Linked DNA regions of Homo sapiens: all the other regions are linked to region 3. The links are contacts of gene promoters, found by promoter capture Hi-C in human tissues and cell types (Jung and others, 2019). All regions are on one chromosome and are shown on one strand. The core of a region is centred on a gene start or on the middle of the fragment in contact, and the rest is flanking DNA. Distances in the headings are between cores, read along the strand shown.

Region 1 (2,700 bases), core at 129-2,628, 280 kb before region 3:
AATCAATATACAGTTTTCTTCTCTTGAAGATGTAATGTTCAGGTGCCACACTATCAGCTGCTGTACTATGACACTTACTTAGATCCGAGCAATGGTTAGCACATTAGCACAAAGTTTAACTCTGTAATCAGATGGTCATCAGATATGTTTTGGAAGTTAGTAACCCCTTAGGAATTTCCACACAGAGAGTAATGTAAGGGAAGTCTTAAATATGTGAAACTAAGTTAACTACCATCCTCAAATTACTCTTAGTTTTGTTATTGGTCTAAACTTTATTATTTTAAACAGCCTTAATAAGATATAACTTACATAAACTTCATTTGTGGGAGAAAGGTTTAAAATCACAAATTCTCTTCCCTGGATCTTCTGTAAATATATACATATTCCAAAGTACAGAACTGTACAATGACATCATCTTCAGAATAATTTCAATTATAAGCAATATGTCAATAAACAGAGGAGAAATGAGTTTATCCTCACCAGACTTACATAACTATTAGCTTCTACATTAATCAAGACTGGATGATTTATACATTCAGGAAGAAAAAGTAATATATAATCTTAAGATTTAATTCATGCAGGTAAAATTATTGCTCTATCTTCTGTGACTGTACTGTGTAAAAACCACCAAGTTTAGAGTATTTCAGGTTAGTCTAGCAGAACACTCACCTTTATTTTCACATATATATTAAGTTAGAAGGTTCTTGGGCTCACTTTAACAGAAAGAACTAAGGGATTTCATTGTAAAGATTTTCTTTTCTTTTCTTTTTTTTAATTTGAGACAGAGTTTTGCTCTTGTTGCCAGGCTGGAGTGCAATGGTAAGGCCTTGGCTCACCACAACCTCCGCCTCCAGGTTCAAGCCATTATCCTGCCTCAGCCTCTGGAGTAGCTGGGATTAAAGGCATGCACCACCACGCCCAGCTAATTTTGTATTTTTAGTAGAGACGGGGTTTCTCCATGTTGGTCAGGCTGGTCTCGAGCTCCCGACCTCAGGTGATCCGCCTGCCTAGGCCTCCCAAAGTGCTGGGATTACAGGTGTGATCCACCATGCCTGGCCCATTGTAAAGATTTTCATACAATGAATTATGAAATGTACATCCTCCAGGGGAAGCTGAAACTGAGAAGTAGGCTGTGTGACCATCAACAAAGAGAGAGATGCTATCTGAAAACTGCCACCAAAGCCAACTCACAAATCAACATCAAATCAACACCTGAAATCTGCCACCTGAAATACGGTGAGCCTGAAGATGATGATATAACACATACCGTTACGGTAGTGAAGTCAGGTTGGAGCCCTTTCTCAAACCTGAAGAGCACTTAAAATCACTGGGAGTCTGAACAAAGAAATAACTGGGGCTACGACAATGCATTTCAAAGAGACACAAATAAAGGGGAATTATTCTATATCCAGGATAGACTGATTCCTTCCCATTATCCCTGCTTAACAAGGCTGCGGTTCTACTCCCATCTGCTATTAATAAATCCACACACCCCATACTGCAAAGCTACAGTAATCAAGACCATACTGCATAAGGGCAGACCCAGAGTGTTACGTGTACGGTCAACTAATTTTCAACAAGGGTGCCAAGAATATGAGGATGCCTAACTCATACAATCTACAAAAATTAACTCAAAAAGGATCAAAGACCAAAATGTAAGAGCTAAAACTACAACACCGTCAGAAGAACATACAGGTGTAAATCTTTGTGATTTTAGGTCAGGGAATGGATAAGACATCAAAAACAAGCAATAAAAGAAAAAAACACGTTAGACTTCAAAATTAAAAATGTTCGTTCTTCAAAGGAAATCATCATGAAAGTGAAGAGACAATCCAGAGAAGAAAATACTTGCAAATCATTTATCTGACAATGTTTCAGCTTCCTCAGAGAATATAAATTTCATAATTCATTGCATTGCAGGGACTTAATAATAAAAGACAATCCAATAAAAAAATAGGCAATGGACTTGAATAGACATTTCTCAACAGAAGTCATGAAGCACATGAAAAGATGGTCAACATTATTAGTCACCAGGGAAATTAAAACCACAATGAGATACCAATTCCCACCCACTAGAATGGCTGTAATGAAAAAGACAACACTAAGTAAGTGCTGACAACGATGTGGAGTCACTGAAACCTTCACAAATTGTTGGTGGGATTGTAAAAGGTTGCAGACACTTTGACGTGGAGTACTGTATGACCTAACACTTCCATGTCTAGGTATATGCCCAAGAAAAACAAAAAACCTATGTCCAAATAACAGCTTGTATACAAATGTTTGCAGTAACATTATTCACAATAGCTAAAAGGTGGAAACAATGCAAATTCCCAATGCAAATGCACCACTGCACTCCAGCCTGGGATGAGTAAGTAAACAAAATGCGGTGACTGGGTGTGGTGGCTCACACCTGTAATTCTAGCCTTTTGAGAGGTTGAGGCAGGAGGATTGCTTGACGCCAGGAGTTCAAGACCAGCCTGGGCAACATGGCAAGACCCTGCCTCTACGATAAAATGAAATAATTAGCCAGGTGTGGTAGCAAGCAACGGTGGTCCCAGCTACTCGGGAGGCTGAAAGCAGGAGGCCTCCTTAAGCGCAGGACTGAGCCGTGTTTGTAGCAGTGCACTCCAGCCTAGGTGGCAGAGAAAGACCTGTTTCAAAATGAAAAAAACAAACCCCAAAGTGTGGTATATCCATACA
Region 2 (2,700 bases), core at 23-2,522, 380 kb before region 3:
TTGAACCCGGGAGGCAGAGGTTGCAGTGAGCAGAGATCGTGCTTCTGCACTCTAGCCTGGGTGACAAAGCAAGACTCTGTCTCAGGAAAAAAAAAGAAAAAAGAAAATTTTCTGGGCATGGTGGCACACACCTATAGTCCCAGCTACTCAAGAGGCTGAGTAAGAGGACCACTTGAGCACTTGAGACTAGGAGGTCGAGGCTGCAGTGAACAGTGATCATGTCATGGCACTGCAGCCTGGGTGCCAGAGCAAGACTCTGTCTCTAAACAAATACATACATAATTTTTAAGAAGCATGTCAATACAATAAATTTTATCATGAAGAAAAGCAACCAGTACAAAACAAGGTCCCCATCCTGATGGACTTCACATAGCAGTTAGGGAGGACAGGTATAAACACCTTGGAGATTAAATGGTAATATTTAATTAACTCTTTTGAAACAACGAGGTCTTTCAATGACAAGGATTTATCCCAGAAAAGATTTAAGTAGGAGTGAAAAGTCTTTGGAGACCGAGTGCGGTGGCTCACGCCTATAATCCCAGCACTTTGGGAGGCCGAGGTGGGCAGATCCCCTGAGGTCAGGAGTTCAAGACCAGCCTGGTCAACATGGTGAAACCTGGTCTCTACTAAAAATACAAAAAGTAGCCGGGCGTGGTGGCGCATACCTGTAATCCCAGCTACTCGGGAGGCCGAGGCAGGAGGATCACTTGAACCTAGGAGGTGGAGGTCACGGTGAGATGATATCGTGCCATTGCACTCCAGCCTGGGCAACAGGAGTGAAACTCCGTCTCAAAAAATAAAAGAAAGAAAGGAGGAGCGTGGAGAATGTGGATGGATTTGGGGTAATGGCTTGCAGGGAGCCCCGGGGGTTGAGGGCAGCTGAAATGTTCAAGGCCAAAAGTGGACCGAGAAGCTTCATGGGCCAGCAAGCACAGAGGCTGCAGGGCAGAGGGAAGAGGACCCAGTGCTGACTGGGGCCAGACTGGAGGCTGAGTGGCCACAGGGGTGCGAGGCATGGTTCCCTGTGGTGCCCACATCCCCTGATGCCCAATAAAACTTTAGGGCTGATGACGCACTGACTTTACCCACATCAACAAGCCTCGGTTTCCCTATCTGTAAAATAGGAAGAAGGATAGCTACGGATAGCTACTATACTGGTATCAGAAATAAACAGGGCAGTGTATGAGAACTGTGGTATCTCACACACATACTTATTTAATGTTTCTCTAATGAAATCCCTGTGCTCAAACCCTCAGAGGAAAGTATGTAAATCAAAACTGTCAAAGAATACCTAAAATTTGATTACCTTTGAAGAGTCCTATATATAAGTGCTTTACTTGTTACGTTTCCTGCCATCAAAATAAATTACCCACTGCTCATTTTAGAAATGTTAGCTTTAAAAAAGACAAATATTGGCTTAATCCCTGATTATTCAAACACACTAAACAGGAACTTTCTCATGCCTATAATCCCAGCACTTTGGAAAACTGAGGTGGGAGGATGACTTGAGGCCAGGAGTAAGGAACTTTCACTGTATTACAGAATTATTCACATATATTCTTAGAAATCACTTTATCTTATCATCATCAAGATATATTGCTAAGTAAGAAAAAAAGGCAAGGTTTAAAACATTAGAACAGTGTGTATAGCAAGGAGAGAAAGAAAAAGAACATGCATTTGTATAAGAAACTCTGCAATTACACTTAAGACATTGGGGAGTGGGGCAGAAAATACAGAGAAGAGGGGGCTGAGGGTAAAATGATGTTCACTGAATATGTTTTAAACTATGTGAATATATTGCCTGTTAAACATATATATGCTTAATAAAAAATATCAAAATGGTATATATGTTTAATATGTTTTTAAAATATATATGTTTAATAAAAATATCAAAATATATATGTTTAATAGACATAAACGTATATATATACACACACGTTTTTTTTTTGAGACGAAGTCTTGCTCTATCGCCCAGGCTGGAGGGAAGTGGCATGATCTTAGCTCACTGCAACCTCCGCCTCCACGGTTCAAGTGGGTATAAGCAATACTGCCACCTCAGCCTCCCAAATAGCTGGGATTACAAGCATGCACCACCAAGCCCGGCTCATTTTTGTATTTTCAGTAGAGGTGGGGTTTAACCATGTTGGTCAGGCTGTTCTCAAACTCCTGACCTCAAGTGATCCACCTGCCTCAGCCTCCCAAAGTGCTGGGATTACAGGCATGAGCTACCACACTCAGCCTATTCTATTCTTTTAACTTTTCTTTAGCTTTAAAATTGTTTTGGCAGGTTCAGTGACTCATGCCAGCAATTTGGGAGGCCAAAGTGGGCGGATCACAAGGTCAGGAGTTTGAGACCAGTCTGGCCAACATAGTGAAACCCCATCTCTACTAAAAATACAAAAAATTAGCCAGGTGTGGTGGTGTGCACCTGTAATCCCAGCTACTCGGGAGGCTGAAGCAGGAGAATCTTGTGAACCCGGGCAGCGGAGGTTGCAGTGAGCCGAGATTGCGCCATTGCACTCCAGCCCGGGTGACAGTGTGACACTGTCTCAAAAAAAAAAAAAATTGTTTTTAGGCAGGGTGCAGTGGCTCATGCCTATAATCCCAGCACTTTGGGAGGCCAAGGTGGGTGGATCATTTGAGGTCAGGAGTTCGTGACCAGCCTGGCCAACGTGGCGAAACCCTGTCTCTACTAAAAAT
Region 3 (2,700 bases), core at 140-2,639:
TTTTAGAAAATTCACTCTAAAAGTCGGGCACGGCAGATGTCCTCGGATACTCGAAAGAGGCCTTAACAGATGAGGTAGGGTTAACAGGTTTAGAGACCTGGGCTGGTAAACACAGAATGAAGATGCTGCACTGTGGAAATGGCCCTTAAGTCCCCGGGATAAAAATGTCTCTATATTGCTTTTCTCCTAAACTTTACATTATGAAAATTTAAAAACATGAAAGAAGACCGAATAGAGTAACGTACTCGATTTACTCACATTCAGCTGAAACCATTATCAAGACACCAAGTCTGTGTCATTTCTGCCTCACGCCCCATTCCCTGTCCCGTTATTTTGAAGGAAATCCCAGAGGGCCTAGAGAGTGTTCACACGATACCTTATCCGTTATGTCACCGTCCTCCGAGGAATTTTCACTCTTTTCTTCATCTTCTGCAAAACGGACTCTCTTCCCCCTCCTTTTCTCCTGCGCTCCCTTTTCCTTTTCTTCCCCCTGTTCCTCTTCTGTATCCTCGTCGTCGTCCTCGCTCTGCGCTTCTGCTTCCTGCGCCTTCTTTTCCTTTTCTACGTCTCCCTCCTCCTCCTCCTCACTTTCGTCCTGGGAGTCACTCTCTAAGTCACTTTCGGGGAGTGTCTGTCCGGCATCTTCCTCCTCCTCACCACTGCTGTCGTACAAGCCGCTATTTTTCCCAGACTCCAGGGCTCCCAGAATATAGTCAAGACCGTCGCGTGCAAAGCTCAGCGGCACGGAGCTGCTGCCGTCCTTCTTTTTGCGCTTGTTCAAACCGAGGCAACGCTCCAGCTTTCGGATCTCTCGGTCCTCCTCCTCGTTCGCCGCTAAAAGCGCCCGTTTCCGGGCAGCGGCGGTGGCGGCTGCGGAGGGTCTGGTCTTTGCGGTGGCGGCCGTGGCCTTGGCCTTGACCCGGGACGGCCGCGGCTTCCTGGGAGGCGAGGGGTCCCGACTAGGGGCTGGGCGGGCGCGCTCCTCCGTGTCCTGCCGGTGACCGCTGGCTTCTTCGGCTCCGCTTCGGCCTCCCAGGCCGGGACCCTGTTCGGGGCCCGCCGTCCTCTGCAGCCGGCGTGCTTTCCGCAGGTGCCGCTTCTCCTTCCTCAGTTCCTTACGGCTTTTTCTCCCTCCCGGGCGAAAGCTCACCGGGGCGCCGCGCCCCTCGCAACCCCCGGGAGCCTCGCCTTCCGAAGTCGCGTGCACGAACTCCTCCACCGCTAGCTTCAGCCTCTTCAGGGCCTTCTCCCCACCGCCAGCAGGACCGCGGCGCGGCCCGCGCCCGCCTCTGCGCTTCATGCGGACCACGCGTCCCTGGGAGCCGCCCGGGCCGGCCTCTCCCGCGCTCCTGGACGCCGCCATCTTTCGAAACGCGTGGACGCACGACTTCCGGCCGAGGCGGGACTTCCGGGGAAGAGGCGGCTGCGCGGGGCGGGCGGGCGGCGCCCCCTGCTGGCCGGAGGGCGACAGCGTGCAGAGCTGCGCGGAGCCGGGTGCGGGGGCAGCCGGGCAGGTGGCGCCCGGGGCAGGCGCGCCCGCGGGTGGGCGCCGCGTGGACGTCAGGCTCGCGATGAGCATGGAGGTGCCTTCACATTTAAAAGGGAAATCCGGCCGGGCGCGGTGGCTCACGCCTGTAATCCCAGCACTTTGGGAGGCCGAGACGGGTGGATCACCTGAAGTCAGGAGTTCGAGACCAGCCTGGCCAACCTGGTGAAACCCACCCACCCCCCTACAAAAATTAGCTGAGCGTGGGGGCACGCGCCTGTAATCCCAGCTACTCGGAGGCTGAGGCAGGAGAATCGCTTGAACCACGGAGGCGGAGGTTGCAGTGAGCCGAAATGGCGCCATTGCACTCCAGCCTGGGCGACAGAGCGAGACTCCAAAGGGAAATCCTCGCGTATGATGGAGGGGAGACTCCGCGCGGGTCGGCGCGGTGCCGGAGGTTGGCGGCGGCGACGACGCTGGGATGCGCGGGCCCCAGGTTCGTGTCCGCCCAGGACCCAGGAATGCGACCTTATTTGGAAATAGGGCCTTTGCAGATGTGGTCGAGAGGAGCCCTCGTGGGTTAGGACTGGCCCCAGAGCCAGCGTTCTCCTGAGAAGCAGGCTCTGGATACGGACCAGGGAGACGCCTGTGGCCCCCAGGCGGCCGAGGACCCCTGAGGAGCCGGCCCTGCCCAGGCTGGGTTTGGACGCTGGGCCCCGAGGGCAGAGCGTTTGAGGTTCCTCTTTACTGGGTAACTTGAACCGGGAAGCGAACGCAGAGGCCGCGCAGTTTGCGTCTGGATTTTTGGGAAGCCCGGAGGCGCAGGAGCAGCCTCGCCTAGCAGTGAGCTGGGGGAAGACGGGGCTGCTGCTGTGGGGTTCTCGGCCTGACCAGGGGCCGCTTCTCTTCCCGGACAGCTTCAGAAGCTTCATTTCCACAGAGTTCCCACCCTTGACTTAATTTAATTTAATTTAATTTTTTTTCTTTTTTTTTTCTTGAGACCGAGTCTCACTCTGTTGCCCAGGCCGGAGTGCAATGGCGGACCAAAGTGCTGGGATTACAGGCAAGCCACCGCGCCCGGCCCGTCCTTGACTTTAAAATGATTTAATTTTTGTCAACTTGTCAGCTCAAAATGGCATCTTGTCATTTAGTTCCTGATGAGAGTGGGTGTCTTTGTTCACTGGCCATTTGTATTTCCTCCTCTGTTTATGGCC
Region 4 (2,700 bases), core at 52-2,551, 310 kb before region 3:
GCTCTGTGTCTCTAAATGTGCCTTTCAAAGGACAGTTTATCCGAGTGGAATTACATATAATAATACGTAGTCTTGTGTCTTGCTTCGTTCACTTAGCACAGTGTTTTCAATGTTCATACACAGTGTAGTAGATATCATTTATTCCTTTTAAATTCTAAATATCTCTTAATCTATAGTATTTACTAGCAGTTCATGTACTGTGAATTATTTCGTTTTTGGCCATTATGAAGGCTTGCTCTGAACATTCATAAACACACTGTGTGAAAATATGTTGCCATCTGTACACTCCCAACGGTGGGGCTGCGACATCACATTGACGAACATTCTCAAGATAACTTGCCTGCACCCCTTGAAAATGGGGGTACAGAAGAAAGGAAACTAAAGAGCACGCCAATTAAATGCAACGTGTGGTCCTGGATCAGATTCTATGAAGGACGCGAAGGGACAACCGGCCTAACACCTGAAGAGCTGGTCACAACGTGACTGCGGGGCTCCGCTCCCACTGAGCGCTGACTCAGGTCTGAGTGGGGCCTGAAAATGTTCATTTTTAACATGTGCTCAAGTGATGCTGCAGCTGCTGGTCCCAGGACCACACTGTGCAGCCAGTGGATTCGATAAGGTAAGTGCCGTATGTCAGAGTTCAATTTCCTGACTTGTAATAATTTAATTGTGGCCGTTTCAAAACTGTCTCTGTTCTTAGGAAGTATGTGCTGAGATATTTAGGGAAGACCTCATGTCTTCAACCTATTCTCAAATGATTCAGGAAAGAAATGCATGAAAAGAATGATAAAGTAAATGTAGCAAAATGTTAACAATTGGTCAGTGCGGGTTTAGAAGTTATTTGGTCAATTCTCACAACTTTTCTATACATTTAAAATAGTTTCGAAGTAAAAAGTTAAAGAATAGCTTCACTCAGAAATATAAAAAAATACTTGGGGGGCCGGGCATGATGGCTCATACCTGTAATCCCAGCACTTTGGGAGGCTGAGGTAGGTGGATCACCTGAGGTCAGGAGTTTGAGACCAGCCTGGCCAACATGGTGAAACCCCGTCTCTACTAAAAATACAAAAATTAGCCGGGCATGGAGGCGCACGCCTGTAATCACAGCTATTCAGGAGGCTGAGGCAGGAGAATTGCTTGACCCTGTGAGGCAGAGGTTGCAGTGAGCGGAAATCACGCCATTGCCCTCTGCACTCCAGCCTGGGCGACAGAGTAAAACTCCGTCTCAAAAACAAAGAAACAAACAAAACAGCAACAACAACAACAAAGCAAAAAACCTTAACATTACTTTTTCCCCCTTGAGACAGGATCTCGCTACTACATTGCCCAGGTTGGTCTTAAACTCCTGGGCTCAACTAATCCTCCTACCTCAGCCTCAAGAGTAGCTGGGACTACATGAGTGTGCAGGAACTCTTTCTGATTGAAGGTTATTTGAAGGTGAATGCCAGCTGGGCATGGTGTGGTGGCTCACACCTGTCATCCCAGCACCTTGGGAGGCTGAAGTGAGAGGATTTCTTGGGCCCAGGAGTTGGAGGCCAGCCTGGGGAATACAGTGAAACCCTTCTCTACAAAAAATCAAAATGTCAGCCAGGCATGGTGGTACATGCCTGTAGTCACAGCTACTTGGGAGGCTGAGGTGGGCAGATTGCTTCAGCCTGGGTGGCTGCGGCTGCAGTGAGCCGTGATCACACCACTGCACTCCAGCCTGGGTGATACAGCGAGTGCTCATCTTACTTAAAAAAAAAAAAAAAGAAAAAAGGAAAAAAGAAAGTGAATGCCTATGAAGTTTCATAAGCACAAATCACATACAGTACTTATCTAATTATATATTATTCTATAATATATATACCACTGTGTGCATTTTTAAATGTTAATATGGCTTTATTTTAATTTACAGTGAATACAGGAATTATGATTAGACGTTCCTGAGGCAATTTTTTTTTTTTTTTTTTTTTGGAGACAGGGTCTCACTCTGTCACCCAGGCTGGAGTGCAGTGCAGTGGCGCGATCTCGGCTCACTGCAACCTCCACCTCCTGGGTTCAAGCAATTCTCGTGCCTCAGCCTCCCAAGTAACTGGGATTACAGGCACAGGGCACCATGCCTGGCTCATTTTTCTGTATTTTTAGCAAAGACAGGGTTTCATCATGTTGACCAGGCTGGTCTCGAACTCCTGACTTCAAATGATCCATCTGCCTGAGGCAATTTTAATTGCTAAAAATAAGCCAAATTACGTAAGATCAACATTAATTTCCAGAAGTGGTAAAATAAGGCTCAGTAGCATATACACTCCATCAACATCTCTACGTTGTACCTGCTTCAGTTCAGTAGCAAAAAGCCCAAGATGTGTTACAGATTTATGAGACATTATTAATATTGCAAATAGTCCCTCCAAATGTACGGTTTGTTCACAGGCAATCATAACCACAATGTGTAACTATCATATGACTAGGTTATTGTGAACAAACAAAAAAAGCAACCCCAAATAAAACTAGCACCAAAATATATACATCATAACCAGTACTTAATTAAAAATCTAGCTGAAGATAAAAACAAAAGTGTATGTAAAAGGACTTCATTTAACCCTACTGAATGTTCTGCTGCCTTTCTTATTATGAAGTGGTCTTTAAAGCAAATGTCATGAAAGTTGTGTACCTTAAACCCCAAGAGAGGGGGTCGAGAGCAGCTTGTTACAAACTTCA
Region 5 (2,700 bases), core at 135-2,634, 410 kb before region 3:
AGACAAAAGAGAAAAAATGATTAGTGTGCAGTACTACCTATCATCTAGTGTTCATATGAAAACTTGGCAATGGATGAGAATGCAGGACAAGATTCAACTGTGTATGCCCCAGTCATACACTACTAAAATATTTAAAAATCAAGGTGTAATACAACACGATATGCAAGTGTAAACAGTGCCAAATGACTTTGAATGTTGACCTTCAGATCTGTTGGACCTGCACACCAGTACTTCAGCACCAAGGAAGGAAGGCCCATGGTGTGTGACTCAAACCCAGGAAGAGTCTGGTATCTCAGGAGAGATGCAGAACAGGTGGCAGCCACAGACCTTTAAGTCTTCAATCAAAAACTGTCAACACACAAAGCCAAGGGTACACAAGATAGACTAACAGCACGCCCCCATAGCTATCATTCTGCTCATTTTTAAAAGTCAGCATTTATACAACTGTACACTCAGGAGTGCAGGAAATCTCACTGCTTTTAAAGGTAACAGCCTTTTCTAAATTCCTACTTCAACGTCATGCTAGAGACACTCAGCAACCTGTATGTTCTCAGAAACAACTAAAACCAATCTACTCTCTAATGACCTCTATCATAAAGGTATGTAATTTCCATCATTACTGAAAGCACTGTACACATATTATGCTTATCCATTGATAAGGGCTGGCTATGTCCCCACCCAAATCTCAACTTGAGTTGTAACTCCCAGAACTCCCAGGTGTTATGCGAGGGACCCAGGGGGAGGTAACTGAATCATGGGGACTAGTCTTTCCCGTGCTATTCTCCTGATAATAAGCCTCACAAGACCTGATGGGTTTATAAGGGGTTTCCGCTTTTGCTTCTTCCTCATTCTCTTGCTGTCGCCATGTAAGAAGTGTCTTTCGCCCTCCTCCATGATTGTAAGACCTCCCCAGCCATGTGGAACTGTAAGTCAAATTAAACCTCCTTTTCTTCCCAGTCTCAGGTACGTCTTTATCAGCAGCGTAAAAACAGACTAATACATCCATTAACTTATTCGAGAGGAGTAAGGTATTCCCAACTGTCTTCGTCTTATAATCTGTCAAGTATGCCTGGCTGTTAACATTACTGATAAGAATAGTGTGAGCCTCAAGTGTGCAGCACAGGCTTCCTCACAGTGTGGGAAACCTCACTCTACTAGTGACAGCATCAGGGCCTGCCTGACCTCTCCTCAGTAGACTGCTTCTACTAGGTTCCTCGGCAGAGGTTTCAAATAACCTTCAGGCAACGTCAGCCATCCTGACTTGGCTTTTTTGAGACAGGGTCTCGGCTTGGTTGCCCAAGCTGGAACACAGTGGCACGAACATAGCTCACTGCAGCCTCAACCTCCTGGGCTCAAGCAATTCTCCTGCCTCAGCCTCTGGAGCAGTTGGGACTACAGGCATGTGCCACCACACCCAACTATTTTTTTTTGGTCAAGACAGTATCTCATTTTGTTGCCCAGGCTGGTCTCAAACCCCTGGGCTCCAGTGACCCTCCCACCTAGGCCTCTCGAAGTGCTAGGATTAGAGGTGTGAGCCACTTGCCTGGCCGTAATTTAGCATTTTAAAATGAACTATCTCAGCTACACACAGTGGCTCACAAATATAACCGCAGCAATCTGGGAGGCCAAGGCAAGAGAATCGCTTGAGCCCAGGAGTTTGAGACCAGCCTGAGCAACATATTGAGACTCTGTATTTTTATTAAAATTTAAAAATTAAGCAAAATGAACTATTTGGCCCCCAAAAAAGTTAATTCTATCTTCAGACCCACTAAGTCTAGCAGTATAGACACTCCATTATTTATTAACAATTTTTTTAAGTTGGTTCCAACTATTCCAGGCTAACTGCTCTCTAGCTATGTTAAAATCTAACAATCTGTTTCATGACGTCTTTGCTGTATACTCTACATTCACAGTTAACACCTCATTAATTAAACAGACTAAGGTTACCGTGAGAGCCTTCTGTGGCTGAACTGCCCTCCTCACAATGGCCAGGCCCTGGTCACACAGATGCAGGTACCACAGGCAGCGCTGCAGTTCTCGAACTTTCATATGAATCAGAAGGGACTCCAGTGGCATAGGCCGGAGCCCAACAATCACAACAAGAAAATTTGAGTGCTATGTACTCTGGGCCCCTGCCTTCCAAAGGGGCACTCAAGAATGCCAAGTCAGCTCCATTTTCAAAGTCCAATGTAAAAGATGTTTGGGATTATCTCACATCCTCAGTGAAACAATCATCAACTTCAGATATAAACCAAGTGACTGACTAATGAAGAGCAAAGCCCAGGCCTAGACTGCAAATGCTCGTTAACTGCTCTGTCAAATTAAACTATGTGGCATTCAAAGACTGGTATACTACATTAAAAGCCATTTTCATAGGCAATAGAAGAAGTTATACTACTCAATTACCAATGTACCACTGTGAAAATGCATTACCACAGAAATAAAACTACTTACGCCTTTTTAATATCCTCGGGTGAGGCATGTCTCTGCACGCCTAGAACTTCATAGTAATCCACCATGTTTTACGAGATTGTTGGAATGGGTCCTGCAAGTAAAAACAGGTGGTCAGTGATGAGGCTGCTGGGGATGGGCAAATCACGGTGGTGGGATGGGTCTGGAGAGGGAGGAAGGGGTGGTGTCACCTTAGCACCTACTGGCCTACAGAGGGAACTTCCACTAGAGCTAACCACTAGCCTGCTG

The links. Contacts are between HindIII fragments. The study calls those that stand out against the background at their distance.
Region 1: a contact is called between a fragment that was not itself captured here and the fragment with the promoter of NOM1 in region 3, in 1 of the 25 tissues and cell types used here (dorsolateral prefrontal cortex).
Region 2: a contact is called between a fragment that was not itself captured here and the fragment with the promoter of NOM1 in region 3, in 1 of the 25 tissues and cell types used here (lymphoblastoid cells).
Region 4: a contact is called between a fragment that was not itself captured here and the fragment with the promoter of NOM1 in region 3, in 1 of the 25 tissues and cell types used here (lymphoblastoid cells).
Region 5: a contact is called between a fragment that was not itself captured here and the fragment with the promoter of NOM1 in region 3, in 1 of the 25 tissues and cell types used here (spleen).

What each region holds. Positions count from the first base shown.
Region 1 is chr7:157,233,268-157,235,967 of GRCh38, reverse strand. The region is part of intron 18 of UBE3C (ubiquitin protein ligase E3C); the gene reads right to left. Among named protein-coding and RNA genes, the nearest start is that of UBE3C, 96 kb to the right of the region's middle. The HindIII fragment of the contact is 7,981 bases long and covers 1-2,700 here.
Region 2 is chr7:157,330,572-157,333,271 of GRCh38, reverse strand. No RefSeq gene overlaps it. Among named protein-coding and RNA genes, the nearest start is that of DNAJB6, 5.1 kb to the left of the region's middle. The HindIII fragment of the contact is 3,436 bases long and covers 1-2,700 here.
Region 3 is chr7:156,948,401-156,951,100 of GRCh38, reverse strand. It overlaps NOM1 (nucleolar protein with MIF4G domain 1), which reads right to left and starts at 1,389. Exons shown (of 11, transcript NM_138400.2): 1 at 377-1,389. The coding sequence starts at 1,363. RefSeq lists silencers at 969-1,018, 1,299-1,648 and an enhancer at 1,709-2,237. The HindIII fragment of the contact is 15,987 bases long and covers 1-2,700 here.
Region 4 is chr7:157,256,998-157,259,697 of GRCh38, reverse strand. It overlaps UBE3C (ubiquitin protein ligase E3C), which reads right to left. Exons shown (of 23, transcript NM_014671.3): 22 at 2,654-2,700. Among named protein-coding and RNA genes, the nearest start is that of DNAJB6, 79 kb to the left of the region's middle. The HindIII fragment of the contact is 8,398 bases long and covers 1-2,700 here.
Region 5 is chr7:157,358,392-157,361,091 of GRCh38, reverse strand. It overlaps DNAJB6 (DnaJ heat shock protein family (Hsp40) member B6), which reads right to left. Exons shown (of 10, transcript NM_058246.4): 2 at 2,455-2,545. The coding sequence starts at 2,519. Among named protein-coding and RNA genes, the nearest start is that of DNAJB6, 23 kb to the right of the region's middle. The HindIII fragment of the contact is 9,556 bases long and covers 1-2,700 here.